Regions from separate parts of the Homo sapiens genome. Here all the other regions are linked to region 1. The links are contacts of gene promoters, found by promoter capture Hi-C in blood cells and fetal thymus (Javierre and others, 2016). All regions are on one chromosome and are shown on one strand. The core of a region is centred on a gene start or on the middle of the fragment in contact, and the rest is flanking DNA. Distances in the headings are between cores, read along the strand shown. Region 1 holds the start of FOXG1 (forkhead box G1). Region 2 has its middle 220 kb from the start of G2E3. Region 3 has its middle 310 kb from the start of G2E3. Region 4 has its middle 300 kb from the start of PRKD1. Region 5 has its middle 270 kb from the start of PRKD1.

The links. The method cuts DNA at HindIII sites, captures the fragments that hold promoters and counts their contacts. A CHiCAGO score of 5 or more calls a contact.
Region 2: a fragment that was not itself captured here is called in contact with the fragment with the promoter of FOXG1 in region 1 in 1 of 17 cell types (M2 macrophages); the score reaches 5.2 in M2 macrophages.
Region 3: a fragment that was not itself captured here is called in contact with the fragment with the promoter of FOXG1 in region 1 in 1 of 17 cell types (M2 macrophages); the score reaches 6.0 in M2 macrophages.
Region 4: a fragment that was not itself captured here is called in contact with the fragment with the promoter of FOXG1 in region 1 in 1 of 17 cell types (M2 macrophages); the score reaches 7.0 in M2 macrophages.
Region 5: a contact is called between a fragment that was not itself captured here and the fragment with the promoter of FOXG1 in region 1, in 1 of 17 cell types (erythroblasts). The highest score is 5.8, in erythroblasts.

What each region holds. Positions count from the first base shown.
Region 1 is chr14:28,764,764-28,768,036 of GRCh38, reverse strand. FOXG1 (forkhead box G1) reads right to left here and starts at 1,250. Exons shown (of 1, transcript NM_005249.5): 1 at 1-1,250. The coding sequence starts at 757. It overlaps FOXG1-AS1 (FOXG1 antisense RNA 1), which reads left to right and starts at 2,718. Exons shown (of 7, transcript NR_125758.1): 1 at 2,718-2,877. RefSeq lists an enhancer at 1,595-2,119. The HindIII fragment of the contact is 9,211 bases long and covers 1-3,273 here.
Region 2 is chr14:30,335,769-30,339,041 of GRCh38, reverse strand. No RefSeq gene overlaps it. Among named protein-coding and RNA genes, the nearest start is that of G2E3, 220 kb to the left of the region's middle. The HindIII fragment of the contact is 3,002 bases long and covers 81-3,082 here.
Region 3 is chr14:30,246,411-30,249,683 of GRCh38, reverse strand. No RefSeq gene overlaps it. Among named protein-coding and RNA genes, the nearest start is that of G2E3, 310 kb to the left of the region's middle. The HindIII fragment of the contact is 3,706 bases long and covers 1-3,273 here.
Region 4 is chr14:30,229,474-30,232,746 of GRCh38, reverse strand. No RefSeq gene overlaps it. Among named protein-coding and RNA genes, the nearest start is that of PRKD1, 300 kb to the right of the region's middle. The HindIII fragment of the contact is 4,964 bases long and covers 1-3,273 here.
Region 5 is chr14:30,196,272-30,199,544 of GRCh38, reverse strand. No RefSeq gene overlaps it. Among named protein-coding and RNA genes, the nearest start is that of PRKD1, 270 kb to the right of the region's middle. The HindIII fragment of the contact is 3,893 bases long and covers 1-3,273 here.

The DNA of each region.
Region 1 (3,273 bases), core at 1-2,500:
TGCCCTTGCCCGGGTCGTCGTAGTGGCGCGGCACCTTCACGAAGCACTTGTTGAGGGACAGATTGTGGCGGATGGAGTTCTGCCAGCCCTGCTTGTTCTCGCGGTAGTAAGGGAAGTTCTTCATGATGAACTCGTAGATGCCGTTGAGCGTGAGCCGCTTCTCGGGGCTCTGCCGGATGGCCATCATGATGAGCGCGTTGTAGCTGAACGGCGGCTTCTCGTACTTGCCGTTCTTCTTCTCGCCCTCCTTGCCCCCCTCCCCGTCCTTGCCGCCCTCGCCCGCCCCCTTCTTCTCCTCCCCCCCGGCGCCGGCGCCCTTCTCCTTCTCGTCCGGCCCGACGGGCGCCAGCTCCCCCGGCCCGCCGCCCGGCTCGCCCTTGCCGCCCAGCCCGTCCGCTTTAGCCCCGTCCAGGGCGGCGGCCGGTGGTGGCGGTGGCGGCGGCGGGAGCAGCAGCTGCTGGGGGCCCTTGTCGTCGTCGGCGGCCGGGGCGCCCCGCGTCTGGGGGGGCTGCGGTGCCGGGGGCGGCGGCGGCGGCGGCTGCTGCTGCTGCGGCGGCGGCGGCGGTTGCGGGGCGGGCGGCGGCGGGTGGTGGTGATGGTGGTGGTGGTGGTGGTGGTGCTGGGGGTGGTGGCTGTTGTGGTGGCCGTGGCTCGCGTGGTGGTTGTCGTTCTGGACCGCCTCGGGCACCAGGCTGTTGATGCTGAACGAGGACTTGGGGATCATTTTCACCTCTTTCCTATCTCCCATGTCCAGCATCACCCAGTCGTCGGGGGGAAACGGCGGCGGCGGCGCGGGAGCGGGACAGCGGCGCGGCGGGCGGCGGCGACCGGTGGGTGCCGAACGGGGCGCGGGGGGCGCGGGCGGCAGCGGCGGCACTGAGCGCTCCGGCAGCAGCGCAGTTGGACCGCAGGCTCGGGCGCTGGCAAGTCATGTAGCAAAAGCAGCAACCACCCCTCAGGAATTAGAAAAAAAAAAAAAAAGGAAAAGAAAAAAGAAAGAAAGAAAAAAGAAACAACCACCGCCCCGGGGGTGAAGCTCCCTCGCTCCCAACTGTACTTCTTGGTCTCCCCCCCCACCCCCCGCTCCCCCCCCCGCTGCTTCCTCCTCCTCCTCCTCCTCTCGCAGCAGCAGTCACAGCAGCAGCAGCAGCAGCCCAAAGGGGGGGAGAGCCGGGCGGCGGGCGGGCGCGTCCCGGAGCGGCCGCGGCGAGGCTGGGGAGACAGCGATCGAGGCGGCTATAGCCACAATTAATTTTCCGAGCTACAGGCGCACACTAGGGCTGTAAAAAAATTTTTGGTTTAACCTTTCCTACCGCTGGGCCAATCAGAGCTGGCGGCGTGCGGGAGCGTCTCTCTCGCCGTCGACCAATCGGAGGGGCCGGGCCCACCCACCCCCGCCCCGCCCGCCGGCTGCCGCCCCCTCGGGCGCTCGCCTCCCCCTCTCCGCGGGCCTCGGACCCCGAGGCCGCGCGGAGCCGCGTAGGGATACGCCGGCGGGAGCACGCGGTGCCGCAGCCCTTCCCTGCGCCCCCGCCACCCCCTCCACCCCGCCGGCTCCGCTCCACCGAAATTCCCCTCCTAGGGCCAATAGCTCACATTTCCGGCTTCCTCCTCATTGTACTGGGTCATTTTCGTTTAAGCGTCAATATTTGTCCTTAGTGATTAAAGTTTGTATCCAATTTTATTTTTGAAAGCGGGGGTGGTGGTGGTAGTGGGAAGAGTGGGAGTGCAGGGAGAGGATGCGAGAGGGCAGGAAATGGAGGAGGTAGAGGCGAGGCACTACTTTTCCGAGTCGGCCTTGCAGGCCAGTGTCTGGCATTTCTGAGCCAGCAGGAAAATTGTGCCCTTTGTAGGTAATAGTCTAGCGCAGCTTTGGATAAGGGGGGAGATAAGGCCCACCGCTGGCGTGTGTGCGGGGGTGTCCTTTACTTCGGGGGAGGAGGGTGTGGGAGAGCTTTGGGAGCGATGAGATGAGGAGGAGGAAGTGGGCAGAGGAGCGCGGGGCCAAACAGGGGTTACTTACTCGATTCCTGAGGCCTGGGCGGCGGCGAGCTCCGGGCTCCGGCACCGCGGGGAAACCGGGACTGGGGCTCCGGGTGCTGCTGCGGCGGCCGGGGCCGCTCAGTAGTGGGCGCCTCTGATGGCCTTCCGAAATGAGAGGTGCCCAGAGAGAAAACAGTACCAAACAATCTCGAAATAAATCAGGTAACACATGCTATATACGTGTGTCTCTTCCTTTTCCTTCTCTCCTGCTCCAGAGCGTCGCTCACGCGCGGGGTGACTCGATGTCGTTTTCTCCTCGCCGCTCCAGCCTCAGCTTCTAATCCGAATTGGAAGCGGGTAGCTGCGAGCGATCACCCTGGAAATATTTTCGTTTTGCTTGTTGACATTGGAGGGAAAATAAGGGTGGGCGTCTATTTCTTTCCGGTTTTTTTTTTAAGCCTTCCTATTTTCACTCCTTTTTTTTCCTTTCCGTTTCTCAAATGCTTTTATTTTGTGCGGGCCTCATTCCTGAAATAACAGTATACTGAAGCCAGCTCTTGCCAACCCTGAGTGCTGCTGGAAAGCACCGGGGAGCCTTGGGAACGTGGATCTCACAGTCCCAGCTTCTTGGGCTTTGGAACTGGGAAGGTTCGGTTGGAGGTTGAAGTGAATGGGGAAATTGCGAATCGGGGGCTTTAAAAGGATCCCGTGGCCAGGGGCAGGGCTAAGGCCCAGCATTTCCCAGGGATTGGAATTTAGTGGGGAGCACATTGATCAAAGGCTGTTTCATCCCACATGGGCACGAAACATACCACATTTTACGGAGGATGTAGCCCCAGAGAAGAGGGAGGTGGAGAAGCATAAATGAAAGGCACCTTTTCCTTCCTCTAGAAGGTAAATAATTATAAAATGTAAGCATTTCTTCACTTGGATAAACTTTCATTAAGATATCTGGCAGATTTGGTATTTAAGAAAACGAAGGAAGGAAAATTGGTGCTTATGCTTGATCCTAAAGTTAAATTGTAACATAAAGAATGCGGTTGATGAATACTCAGGATAATAGGGGGTTATTCCATCCTCCCCACCCCCAGTCTTAAGAAAGAGAAAGAGAGAAAAGGTTGGGGGGGGGGGAGGAAACTGGAGAGAATAATAGATAATTACAAATAGCTAGTGAATTTTAAATATGCATCTATTAGGAATGCCACAAAGGAGCTTTGAATATTGGACTAACCTCAAATGTCCTTCCACTGTATGTATGTATCTTTACCTATGTCTACATATCTTCTCACT
Region 2 (3,273 bases), core at 332-2,831, 1.6 Mb before region 1:
AGTATTTCAGGAGAAGATCACGTTAGTAATTAGCTCCTGAAAACCTGGAAGATAATGAATATATTTGATGTATTGAAGCTTTAGTGAAAGACTTAACAGTCATTAAAATGAGCTCAGAAGATTCTAGCTCTGTGGGTGAGTGTCTGGGCTGATGGCATAGTTAATGTCACTATTGTTCTTCCTTAGTTTAACTTGTATTCGGTGTATATTTTATACAATTTTGGTTTTAAAAATGTTTATTTTTTTGAGGACAGACCACATATTTGGGGGTCTTTGAAATAAACTAACTTGATGGCCCAGCTCACATAATCTTTACCAGGTATCAACCAACCCCTTAACTTCGTGTGACTACCGTCAATCCTGCATTGAGACCTTGGCTTTTTTAGTAAGAGACCCGACTTTAAAACAGGACAATTTACCTATTCTGGACAGCATCAAGAATAAAGGAGAACATGGCACATAGTCTTATTTATTCTTTATTTGCAACTTTAGAGAGTAGGATTATTTAGAGTGGGGTCATTGAACAAACACACTTTTGTTTTGCAGTTACTCTTGTTATTGTACATATCACACTGATTTTTGCTGCTTAAGTGTCCAGTGTTTAGCTCTTTCAATGTGGCCTGATTATATATATATATATTTAAAAACCTTTATTCCTCTCTGCTTTGTATATATATTTAAAAACCTTTATTCCTCTCTGCTTTGCTGTTTGTGAGATGGCTTCCATGCATGATAAAACCAAGGGTGTTTGAGAGACAAATACAGGATTATAAGTTGGTCAGCTTTATGACACTTGACACCTTAAGATATGGTTTCTAGATAACAGGGCTTGCCTGCAGAGTCTTGACCCAAACACCAAAGGTGGGAGTGAGGCAGGGCTCCTACACAGCACAGGCTGGTCAGAAAATTGGGAGCAAATGACTCTAGTTAGTCATCATTCACTTTTTCTGCTGTTTTGGGGAAGAATTTTGTCTCAGCTCCACAGAGCTTTAGAAAAAGAATGATGCATTTCTGAAGCACTTAGCATGGAGAACCTGTTGATATCATTTGTATTATTACAATTTCATATTATATTTGAGCTCTTGTATACTTCTTTATATTATTTTTTCTAAGACTGGATTATGCCAGAATTTGTGCTAAGTTCTGGGAATCAGGTGGAATGCTTTTCTATGGGCTTACATCTTTCTTTGAAAGTAAATTTTTGAAGGACTGAATAGGATTGCAAAGTATGATAACCAAAACTCTTTATGGGATATTTAAAGGGCAAAGATCCATTCCATGGGGCGGGGATCTCCCCGCCCCCCATTTTGTACTTCTTAATTCCTCTTTTCCCTCACTTTTTCTGAGGCCAAATTGAGGCAGTAGAACAAGAAGAACAGGAAAGAGGTTGTGACCAAGTATTCAGCGATGTTGCTTTAGCACTCTCTGGGTAAATACAGTAACAGATGAGCAGAGAGCCAGAGGTCCAACGACTGCTTCCTGGGCCCCCACCCATTCTTGTCAAGCAACGCCAGCAAATTCAAAAGCACAAAGTTGGTTATTTTTAACTGCTCATCAAAGCCACTAGAAACAAACTTTCAAAACTTTTCTTCTATTTTTGCTTCTTTTCCTCTTTCTCCTTATTCCTCATTTTTGGGAGGTACTGTTGATTGGAAAAGGTTAAAAAGAAAACTCAGACAGCTGAATTTTTAAGACAGAGATGATGATAAAAATAAATGGCCAGATATTAAGAAAGAGATAATGGGGAGTAACAATTTGTGCAACCCTTTAGGGCTTTGAGAGCGTGATTATCAGCGAGAAAATAGTGGCTTCAATGTAGGGAACAATCTTAGTTAAGACTTTGCGAGTAGTGATATATCTTTTATTTATTATTATTATTATTTTTTTTTTTTTTTGAGATGGAGTCTCACTGTTGTTGTCCCGGGTCGGAGTGTAATGGTGCGATCTTGGTTCACTGCAACCTCCGTCTCCCGGGTTCCAGCAATTCTCCCACCTCAGCCTCCCGAGTAGCTGAGATTACAGGCGCCCGCCACCACGCCTGGCTAATTTTTGTGTTTTCAGTAGAGACAGGGTTTCACCATGTTGGCCAGGTTGGGCTCGACCTCCTAACCTCAGGTGACCCACCCCCCCCCTCCCTCGGCCTCCCAAAGTGCTGGGATTACAGGCGTGAGCCACCAAGCCAGGCCGATATATCTTAATGTTTGGAAAACATTGGAAGCATTTTTCATAAAAGTTAAAATACTGGCCGAGCGCAATGGCTCACGCCCGTATTCCCAGCACTCTGGGAGGCTGAGGTAGGTGGGTCACGAGGTCAAGAGTTCCAGACCAGCCTGACCAACATAGTAAAACCCCGTCTCTACTAAAAATACAAAAGTTAGCGGATGTGGTGGCGGCGCCTGTAATCCCAGCTACCTAGGAGGCTGAGGCAGGAGAATCGCTTGAACCCGGGAGGTGGAGGTTGCAGTGAGCCGAGATCGTGCCACTGCCCTCCAGCCTGGGCGATGGAACAAGACTCTGTCACACACACACACACACAAAATTAAAATACTATCATTTATATGTTAATATTATATAATCAACTAATTTGTGATGTATAGGAATAAATGGCATGAATTCCGTCAGTACCAGAGATTTATTGAGTAATCAGAAAAAAATTAAAGAGTCTTAATATGACAACATAGGTCTTACAAAAATAAATAGCTTAGCAGGAAGCAGGAATCCAGGCTATTGTTTATGCTGTCAATTCAAATTAAAAACGAAAATGAAACAAAGGATTTCTGCTAAAATATATTATCACATATGGAAAATGAATTCACCTCCTCCTCCCTGGCCCACCAGCAACATGGAAAGTATTAACTTAGAACTTATTTCCCTTTTCCTCCATCTCTTTGAGATGATAACTGAAACTCAATAGCGCTTTATAATTAAAGAATAAGGTACTGATAGTGAAACGCTTTTCACTTCACTCAATAGATTTAAAAATAGAAATTTACTAGAGGTGATCATTTCACAGATTTTGATGCCAAGAATGGGTAACATTAGCCAGGTCTTTAGGTGAATATCTTGAATGATTGTTCAAGCTTTGTGGGCTTAACCAAATTCAGACATGTTGTCCATGTTGTTGCATGCTACACTCTGGTGCTTCAGTTAGCATGACTACATGCTCTATAAAAGAAGTGTAGAAGGCAAGAAAAATGCAAATATATAAAATAAGGGGTTTTCCCACTGTTCTTTGTATGGTAACAATCTTCAGATGATATCTTAATGATATCT
Region 3 (3,273 bases), core at 516-3,015, 1.5 Mb before region 1:
CTTAAGAAATGTGCTCAGAAATTATAACATGAGCAAGAATTAGCTCGGTTGGCTTAATATTTTTAAAAATTAATATCTGTTGTTGATTAGCTCTCATTATACCAAAGGAACTTTTGAAGGGAGGTATTTAATTTTTCCTTTTGTTTCTATTCTTATTTGTGAATATGTTAATTTTAAGAGAAAGTAGAGAAGGAAATATTCAAGTAATAAAGCTGTCTAGTTCAATAAGACAAACATATTTTTAATAAAATTCACTGTTTCCAAACAAATCATAGATCAAAGAGCTTGAGAGAAGGAACCAGAATGGTTGACCATACATATATTAGAAAGCACAAGTGCCTTTAAGCAAAATAAACTGGCTATTTAAGCAGTATTCTGGGGAATATGGTCAAACAAGTGTGCATTCTCTGGTAATTTTAAAATTTTTCTAATCAAAACATAAAAATTAATTTTCTTACAAAAGTTAATGGGTGCTGGAAATACATATTAAAATGCTATATTGACATAAATCACTAATGGAAATACGGGGAAGAAGAGTTTTGAATGAAAGACATTTGCATGAGCTAGAAAATGGAAGATGCAAAATAAAGGTTAAGTGCAATGTTTCCATGTAGTAGTGAAGTTTTTGGAGTCTGAAAACAAACATAAAATGTTACAATTGGTGTGGTTTGGGTCTTCCTCTCTAATGTACTAGAACCCAAACCATATTAGAAAACTAAACATTTAAAACATACAACCATTCTGGAAAAATAAATCCTTTGTGGGGTAGGGGGCACCGTGAATACACTTTTTCCTGTTGGTAGAGTCCATGCTGGCCCTGTTAAAAAACATGGTAGCAGAAATGAAGCCATAATGATAAAATATTTTATGAGAAAATGTTTAGTGGGGCCATAGTATGGCATTGAGTTAATAATGCTAAGAAATCAAAACAATGCCAATTGTTGATTATTGCTATGAAGAGATAGCTTATTGGCCTATAATTAATAACAAAGTTTGATTTCTAATAGGTACGGCAATGCTTCCTAAACTTGGTTGTGTTCTGGAATTACCTGGGGATCTTTAAAAAATACTGTTGTTTGGATCCTACTTACAGAAATTTTGATTTAGTTACTGTGGAATATAACCTGAGCATCAAGTTTTTAAGGGCTTTCTGGGTCATTCTAATGTCTAACCAAGTTTGGGAAATACTGATATACTCTATTGTCAGTGAAAACAACTACTACCTACTTTTTGCTTTGTTGACATAAGAACTCCCACTATTGTCTGTGCATCCAGAGAAAACCTTTGATATTGAAACACGTATCTCTGGAAAAGTTTGATAGAGGGGCACTTTTGTATGAGGGGGTGATAAGGCATGGGCAGAAAGAGAGGCTATTCTGAGAATGGAAGGTTATGAAGTCTGATATATAATGAAGAAAGAGGGTATTTCTCCATTTCACCTAGTTTGGACTTTAATGAGGCCTCATTAATTTGCTTAAGCTAATTTTCTATAAACTATATATTCATATTCAAATGTCGTTCAAAATATATTAAAAGATAAGTTTTGATGATTCACTATTCTGAATTATTTAAGCCATGAGGAATAATCAGAGGTTCTTTTCTGAAAGAAAAAAACACTTCAGATTGTCGATCATTGCAATCACTATCTAGGGAGATATATATTATATCTTTGTTATGTTTAATTTCGATGATTCTCTGAACTAAAACTTGTTGTAATGCTACCCTTTATAATGGCCTTTGGCTGGTTCTGTGATAAAAAGAGCAAGATAGTAATTTCAAGATGTATTTCCTACATGACTCTGCTTTTGTGACTTTATCGATCCCAACATTATCTGAACTCTTTCTCCCCCAGTTTTGGGATATCAGATGAGAAGGAGTTATTTTAGTATCTCTTGGAGAATAGCATCGATGAACTATTTTCATCCAATGCAGCATAAATTGTTTTGTCCGCAGCAGATTCCACCCAAAGAAGGCCGACTCTGATTACTGGTTATTAAGGTTTTTTTCTGCCATATGTCTGAATGGAAACGTGGCAGATTTTCCTTTGGGTTTCAACAAAGTGTTTTCTCAAATCACAATGAAACGAGGTGATTGAAATGCCATAATAACAGTGGTGGTGGTAGATTGTTGCTGCTTCTTGACAAAACAGAGAAGTGGAGCAATTTGAAATCAGAGTTAACTTTTGGGTAAAGAGGTAAGGCCTCAAAACCAAAGATCAAATTTGCTGTTAGCCTAATTCTAGCTAACAACAAAGAGCATTTGCTTGTTTGGAGTCTCTGCGGACAGGTTATTAGTTTCCTACCTCCCGAGACGTGAAAGGAACACCTCAGAATGTGGAAGAAAATGGCAAAGCAGCCCTCGTCTTGGTGATGTTTGTATTGGCTGTGCTTATGCAGGAGGAAAATGTCTTCTTCTTCCCACTCAGTGGCACTTCCAATCCATTTGGCGTGATATTTAATGGGGCTGGTCATTAGCCCAGAAATGCATAAAGGAGAATGCATTAGCCACAATTTGTCTTGATAAGGTTCTCTTCACTTATCTGATACAAGGCACGGATGCATTCTAAAAAAGAAGATAGCCTTGCTAGGAGTGCTGATCACGGTGGTTTCATTAGACTTCCTGAGGCACCGAAGTGAACATTTAGTTATAAAGATAGCCAATATTTAGTGATATGATATAATCGTTTGGTTCCTAAGTCTGAAAACAAGAGTTTATCTAAGATTAATATGGGACTTTTTGATAAAACAATACTCAAAATAAAAGTCTTAAAGTTTTGGGCATCATGCACATTAAGACTAAAAATTGTAATATATTATTTGACTTTGTGTCCAAAATTATGGACAAGGGTATTTTTTAACCCTAATATTGGATTAACTCTATAATTTTTTCATTTTTTCCCAAATGTTTATTGGCCATTTATACATACTTTTTTTTAATTGGGGAAAATATACATAGCACAAAATTTACCATTTTAAACTATTTTTAAGTGTACGATTCTGTGACATTAAGTACATTCACACTGTTGTGCAAACATAATCACTATAAATCTCCAGAACAATTTCATCTTCCCAAACTGAAACTCCATACCCACTAAACAGTAACTCCCCATTACCTGCTCCCTCCACCTTTGATAACCCTATTCTACTTTCTGTCTATGAATTTGACTAGGTACTTCACATAAATGGAATCATGCAATATTTGTCCTTTTGTGTTATCAATTCTTTTTTTAAGCATCTGATTTTGTAAAAGCATACAACAGTCATAATTTAGACC
Region 4 (3,273 bases), core at 408-2,907, 1.5 Mb before region 1:
AAATTAAAAGTGGGTTTTAGCGGTAAAACAACATTAGAACTGAGGCCTTGGCATATGAATGAGTTTACTCAGAAAAATGCATAAACAAACCTATTGTTTAATACTATAAAATCCATTTCCTTTTATTTTTGTTGAGGCTGAGGAAGGAAAAGGATATTTACTTGTTGTGTGAGCTTGGAAAAATCTCTTAGTGTTTGGGGCTTGAGTTTTCTCACCTGTGAAATGAAGAGATTGGATTAGATTATATTAGTATATCCTCTAGTTTTAAAATTCCATGATTGTCCTAGAAATCACAGAAACAGTCTGCACAAGAGCTGAGTGTCCTGAAAGGAAAGAAAGTTTTCAAAAGATGCCCCAACTTAATTCATGATGTTCATTGTTTTTCTTATTCTGTTATAGTGATTGAAATATCCATGTCCATAAGAAGAGAATCACTTTCCCTTGGACAGAGCTTGACAAAGTTCTCATCCTTTATTTAGTTCCCTAAGTAGCGTGGCATATGACATGTGAGAGGACTTGGACTTTCACAATCATATTATCCTAAAGGCAACCCTAGCTACCTTAGTGTATGTTTTTGAGCAGAGGGAGTGAGAAAAATGTGAGTTTAGAGAGTTTGGCAAAAAGGGAGGCCAACTCGTGAAGAGTCTTATGTGCTCTAAGAGAGTGGCCTGGATCTCTTCATACTGGATTATGAAGGTGATGAAAAGCCATCAGTAACTTTTAATGAGGAGAGGGGTGGTAAGAAATAAATTATGTGATTCGTATTTTAGAGAGAAAACTCTGGCATGAAGTAGAAAATGAATGGGTGTGGGGATAGATCACAATCAGCACGATCAATGAAGATGTATGGACATAGTGCAGGCAGATGAAAAGAAAACTAAAGTAGGGCCAGTGGAAATCTAGAGAGGAGGGTGAACACAATAGTAGTTTAGTAAGGAGGCTAGGGAAAGATGGAAGTTGAAGATGAACTTCAGGTTTGTCTTGAGAAACTGGGGAGATGGTGAATGTTTGAATAGAGAAAATAATGGGCTTTATTTTATGCATGATGAGTGAGATTGTATCAGGAATGGTCACAGGAGAGGAGTAGAGGAAGGAGCAGAAATGTTAACTTTAGAGCAGAAGGAGAAAAAGGATTCCAACAAGAGAAGGTGGAGGCGTCCTAGACGAGGCTGTGGGCTTTATCTTCTGCCCTTGGCTCATTCAGTTGATTGAACAGATTACCTCTTCATACTTAAGGTGTGTATGGCATGGGAGAGACAGAGAAAAACAATCACACCATCATTGGATGAGCTGACATCATGATTCTCACCATATTCCTGATGCCACACATGATGGCTGAAAAATGGTAAGCCACACTATAGTTGTTGAATGAATGGATAAGTTCATTAATGAAGTTCTATAATAAAAGTACGTAAAACATGTTATGGGACCATGGAGGAAACAGTGGGCTATTTTTGAGTAGAAAGTAAAAGTCAGATAATATTTCACAGAAAAGGTGGCAAAGAATGGTTGAGAAACAACTGAAACGAAGGGAGCAGCATTTGTAAAGTCACGTTTGTATAAAAGTGAATCTTTCCTTTATTTTGAGCTGTGGAGGAAGAAGACAGTGTTGACCTCTGTTTTAGTATGGATTATCATATAAGGATCTTTTTTTTTATCTTAAACACATTCTTGAAAATATTTCATGTTTTGTAGAATAACTATATTATTAGGCTTTGTGCGTAAAATAAACAGAAATGGTGTGCGCAGTTTCCTCACTTAAATCAAACAGGGAAAATAATTCAACCAAGTTATTCCCTCAGTCAGTGAGTAAATGACGTAATGATGCTCTTATGTGAACAACAGCATCAACACTGATGAGTAAACCCTGATAATGTTTAAAGACCTTACTTTTGGAATGAATAAATGTGGAATAAACTAGGTTTTTTAAACCACTATCAATTTTTTGAATAAACTGTAGAGCAGAACAACCATAAGTATACATCTTTTCAGTCTTCTTCTTTTCAACCTTTGCAGACTATAGTCCAGAACCCTGTGCTACAGTATCAACTGATCTCTTATTGTAATTTATGTATTAAAAAACAATATTTCCTAGATTTTTTGGTCACCTACATTCCCTTCTTTAATCAAACATTGTTTAATATGTCCTATGCATCAAATATAATATCATGTATCATGAGTAATATCATATTCTAGCAATATGATATATAATATTATCATAGTATCAATTTGATGCATAGGTCATATTAAAGGAGCTTGCCAACCAAGAGGAGAAACAAAATTTACCCAAATGAACAATAAGAAGCAATAAACAACCAAGTTTTAAAGAAATAAGTTCTCATTTTAGCTGCTTGTCTCACACTGATAACAAAAACCTCATTATGCCCAAGAGCCTGGTATGCACATCTGAGAAATTTAAACTTTATTCACCTTCCGCTATCAGATCTCTACTTATACTCCGATGTTTATTCCCACAGAGTTGCTTTTAAGGACACTTTCAGAAGGCTTCAGTTCAACAAATACTAAATTTATTGTACCAGTCACCTTGCCAGTTAGTTTGGAGGATTCTGAGATGAAAAAGACATAGGCCCTGCCCTCAAGGTGCTTTATTTGAGAATGGAAAGAGTAGGGGTAGGTTGGGAGTTAGACGAGTGTTCAAATGACTATACTGTAGGTGGAGTAAGTTAAGGATCACAGAGGAAGAAAGTCAAAATGTGATGGTGGAAAACAAGAGTCTCTCAACACAGCAGAAAAAATAGTAGTAAGAACTTTCTATGTATTAGGTAGTAGGGAAATAAAAAGGCAGAGAACATAGCTATTCACAAAGTCTTCAAAGAAATAACATCATGTCAGCTTTCAACTTACTGTTACAAAGCACCATTTCATATCTTTGAAAGGCTCAAGAAAGTCAGCAGTGTGTTTGGTAAAACTTTCCTACCCACTGTCTGAGCTCAGGATGCTGGGCAATTGTCCCTCTTGTTTAAGACTTAAGTACAGATGGTCCCTGACTTATGACAGTTAGACTTAATGATTTTTCGACTTCATGGTGGTACAAAAGCAATACACATTCAGTACGCTCCTTGACTCACTATGGGGCTATGTCCAGACAACCTCATCATAAGCCAAGGACCACCTGTATTTTAGGGGAAGCAGACAGCTGGATGGTTCTCTTCTGTTTCTGAGGTTGGCGACTGCTCCTGTCAGAGCACTGCTGATGGCTCATCTATGACACTTGCCCCTGTCCCCTAGTGTATGGCGGTACCCAATTTCTCT
Region 5 (3,273 bases), core at 278-2,777, 1.4 Mb before region 1:
CATCTGATGATGGAATGCTGCTGTGCATGCCCAACTTCATGGCTAGATGGGTCAGAAAGCACCCAGTTTATGATAGGCAGTTCAGGTCACATGGTGACTTGATGACCCATAGTCAAACCAAAGCCCAGTAGCAGGCCAAGAGTTGCCTCTCAAAAGAAGAGGAGTTATCTCCAGAAGATAACAGGGCCTTGCTGCAAAATCCTAGAGGCCTCTGCTTCAGTCCACCTATGGGGGCCTGCCAGAGGTGCCAAACAGCTTCCGTATCTACCACTGACACACCAAGCACCATTGGATCTGCTGGGCTTAGACTTTTGGGTTAATGCTGGAATGAGTTAAGACATTGGGGGACTGTTGGGAAGGCATGATTGTTTTAAAATGTGAGGACATGAAATTTCGGAGGAGCCAGGGGTGGGATGATATGGTTTGGCTGTGTTCCTACTCAAATATCCTCTTGAATTGTAGTTCCCATAATCCCCACGTGTCATGGGAGAGACCTAGTGGGAGGTAATTGAATAATGGGTGTGGTTACCCCCATGCTGCTGTTCTCATGATAGTGAGTGAGTTCTCATGAGATCTCATGGTTTTATAAGGGGCTTTTCTTCCTTTTGCTGGGCACTTCTCCTTTCCGCCGCCAAGTGAAGAAGGATGTATTTGCTTCCCCTTCTGCCATGATTGTGAGTTTCCTGAGACCTCTCCAGCCATGCTGAACTCTAAGTCAATGAAACCTCTTTTCTTTATAAATTGCCCAGTCTCAGGTATTTCTTTATAGCAGCATGAGAATGGACAAATACAGATAAGAATCACTAAGGATGCCTTTTGTTTTAAAGACTATAAAATGCAACTTGAATCAGGTTTAATAATAGGAGAAATCTCTTGGTTTATATAGTTAATGTTCAGTGGTAAGGTGAGCTTCAGGTGAGACTTGATCTAGTTGCTGAGTGATATCACTTGGTATATGAGTTGTTTCTGTATCTTTATTTGATTTTCCACATTATAAACTTTATTCTGAAGTGAACTTCCCTCATAGTTTCAAGATCTCTGTTAACAGCATCCAGGGTAGTATTAAATGCTTTATCATTCATTTTTGGTGGGACAGAGTGTCTTTTATGGTAGTTACTGAGAGAGAAAGAGAGAGAGAGGGAGAAAAACCTCCCTTTCAAGAATCCTCTAAAAATAAAACATTTGCCCAAATTAAATTCATATCCACCCATGTGGTCAAGGAGATAGGACACATAGATGTGCTTGAGCCATTCAGCACCCTTTCTACAACAACACTGGAGCTAGAGATGGGTCAGTCCTGCCAAAAACTGTGACCATGAGATTAGAGGGAAGGAGAAAATGAATCTGCAGAGATCTATTATGGTCTGTAAGATGGTGTATTAGTCTGTTTTCACACTGCTGATAAAGACGTACCCGAGACTGGGTAATTGACAAAGAAAAAGAGTTTTAATGGACTCACAGTTCCATGTGGCTGGGGAGGCCTCACAGTTATGGTGGAAGACAAAAGGCACATCTTACATGGTGGCAGACAAGAGAGAATGAGAACCAAGTGAAAGGAGTTTCTCCTTATAAAACCATCAGATCTTGTGAGACTTATTCACTATCACAAGAACAGTATGGGGGAAACCACCCCCATGATTCAGTTATTTCCCACCAGGTCCCTCCCACAACATGTGGGAATTACGAGAGCTACATTTAAAGATGAGATTTAGGTGGGGACACAGCCAAACCATATCAGATGGCTAGGCTAGACTTCTTGCTGTTAAATGCAACGTGTGATTGCGGTTGATGAGTTCTGAGGAGTGGTCTCTTAGGAACATGATAAAGAAATTCTCCAACAGCCTAGGTAACTCAAAGACTCATCAGTGTAATTAGATGTAGAAAATTAATACTCCTAGAGAATATGGATATTTCTTCTTAGATGAATAAAAAAGGCAGTTCTCAAACCTGGACTATGCCTCAGAATTGCCAGATCCCATGCCCCACCCCAACAATTCCTGAATGAAAATATGCAGAGGTGGGGCTCAGAAGATATATTTTTTAGGGTGCTCTGCAAATACTCTCATGTAGTCATGTGGGAGGCTTTGAGAACTAATATCTAAGGCTTACGCAAAGCCCACCTTTAATAATAAAATGTATCACAGCTCTGGCCTGTGACATTAATACCAAGGGACAAGGTGGCCTGTGGTTTGGAAATTCAAGATCCATCAGTATGAAGAAAGAAAAAAAGTCAATACTCCCTGGTGGCATACAGCTTTCTTCACAGACAAGACATACAGATTTTGCTGGGAATTCATATTCCTCCCTGCCCTACCTCATCCTTTTTAGGTTGCGGATAACATAGTTTGACTCATGTACCTTTCCAAGTAAGCTGCACTTCAGAGGCAAAGAATTAGGAGTGAGTGGCAGTAGCCCTACACAGAGAAGCCTATATTTTGAAATGGGACTCTTCCATTATAGAACTCAAACTTTCCCACAGCTGTTCTCTGGAATTCTTACTATGTGTCAAGCCCTGTTCTGAGGTTTTATATTATTAACTGATTTAATCCTCAGAGGTAGATGCTATTATTACCTCCACTTTATAAATGATAAGACTAAGGTATGCAGAGGCCAAGTAACTTTACTGCATTGACCCAGCTAGTCAGCAGCAGAGTTGGTTCTAGAACTGCCATTATGGGTTCGTGTCAGGCAGAAGGACCCTGAGTTTAGAAATGCTTTTGGTGACTTCAAATGTGTAGGCAATGTGCTCATAAATGACACAGTGTCTTAATTACTTCTGGACAACAGGCAGCTATCTTGAGATCATTTGGGTCATTAACACATGTGTTAGTCCATTTGGGCTGTTATAATAGTCTACCTGAGTCTGTGTCATGTACAAACAACAGAAATTTATTTCTCGTAGTTCTGGAGGCTAGTAAGTCCAAGATCAAGGTGCCAGCAGATTTCATATCTGGTGAGGGCCTGTTCCTCAGAGATGGCGCCTTCTGGCTGTGTCCTCACATGGTGGCGGGCAAAGGGGCTCACAGGCTCCCTCAGGCCTCTTTTATAAGAGCACTAATCCCATTCATGAGGACTCTGCCCTCACGACCTAATATCTCCCAAGGCCTCACCTCTTAATACCACCACCATTAAGATTTCTACATAGGAATTTTGGGGGTAGTGACTCCATTAAAACACAGGTGGGAGGGGACAGAATGACATTCCTAGCAGTGCTGTTTCGATCCTGATACACTGTGATTTGACATTCCATGTAACCAAATTTGGCATTGTGAA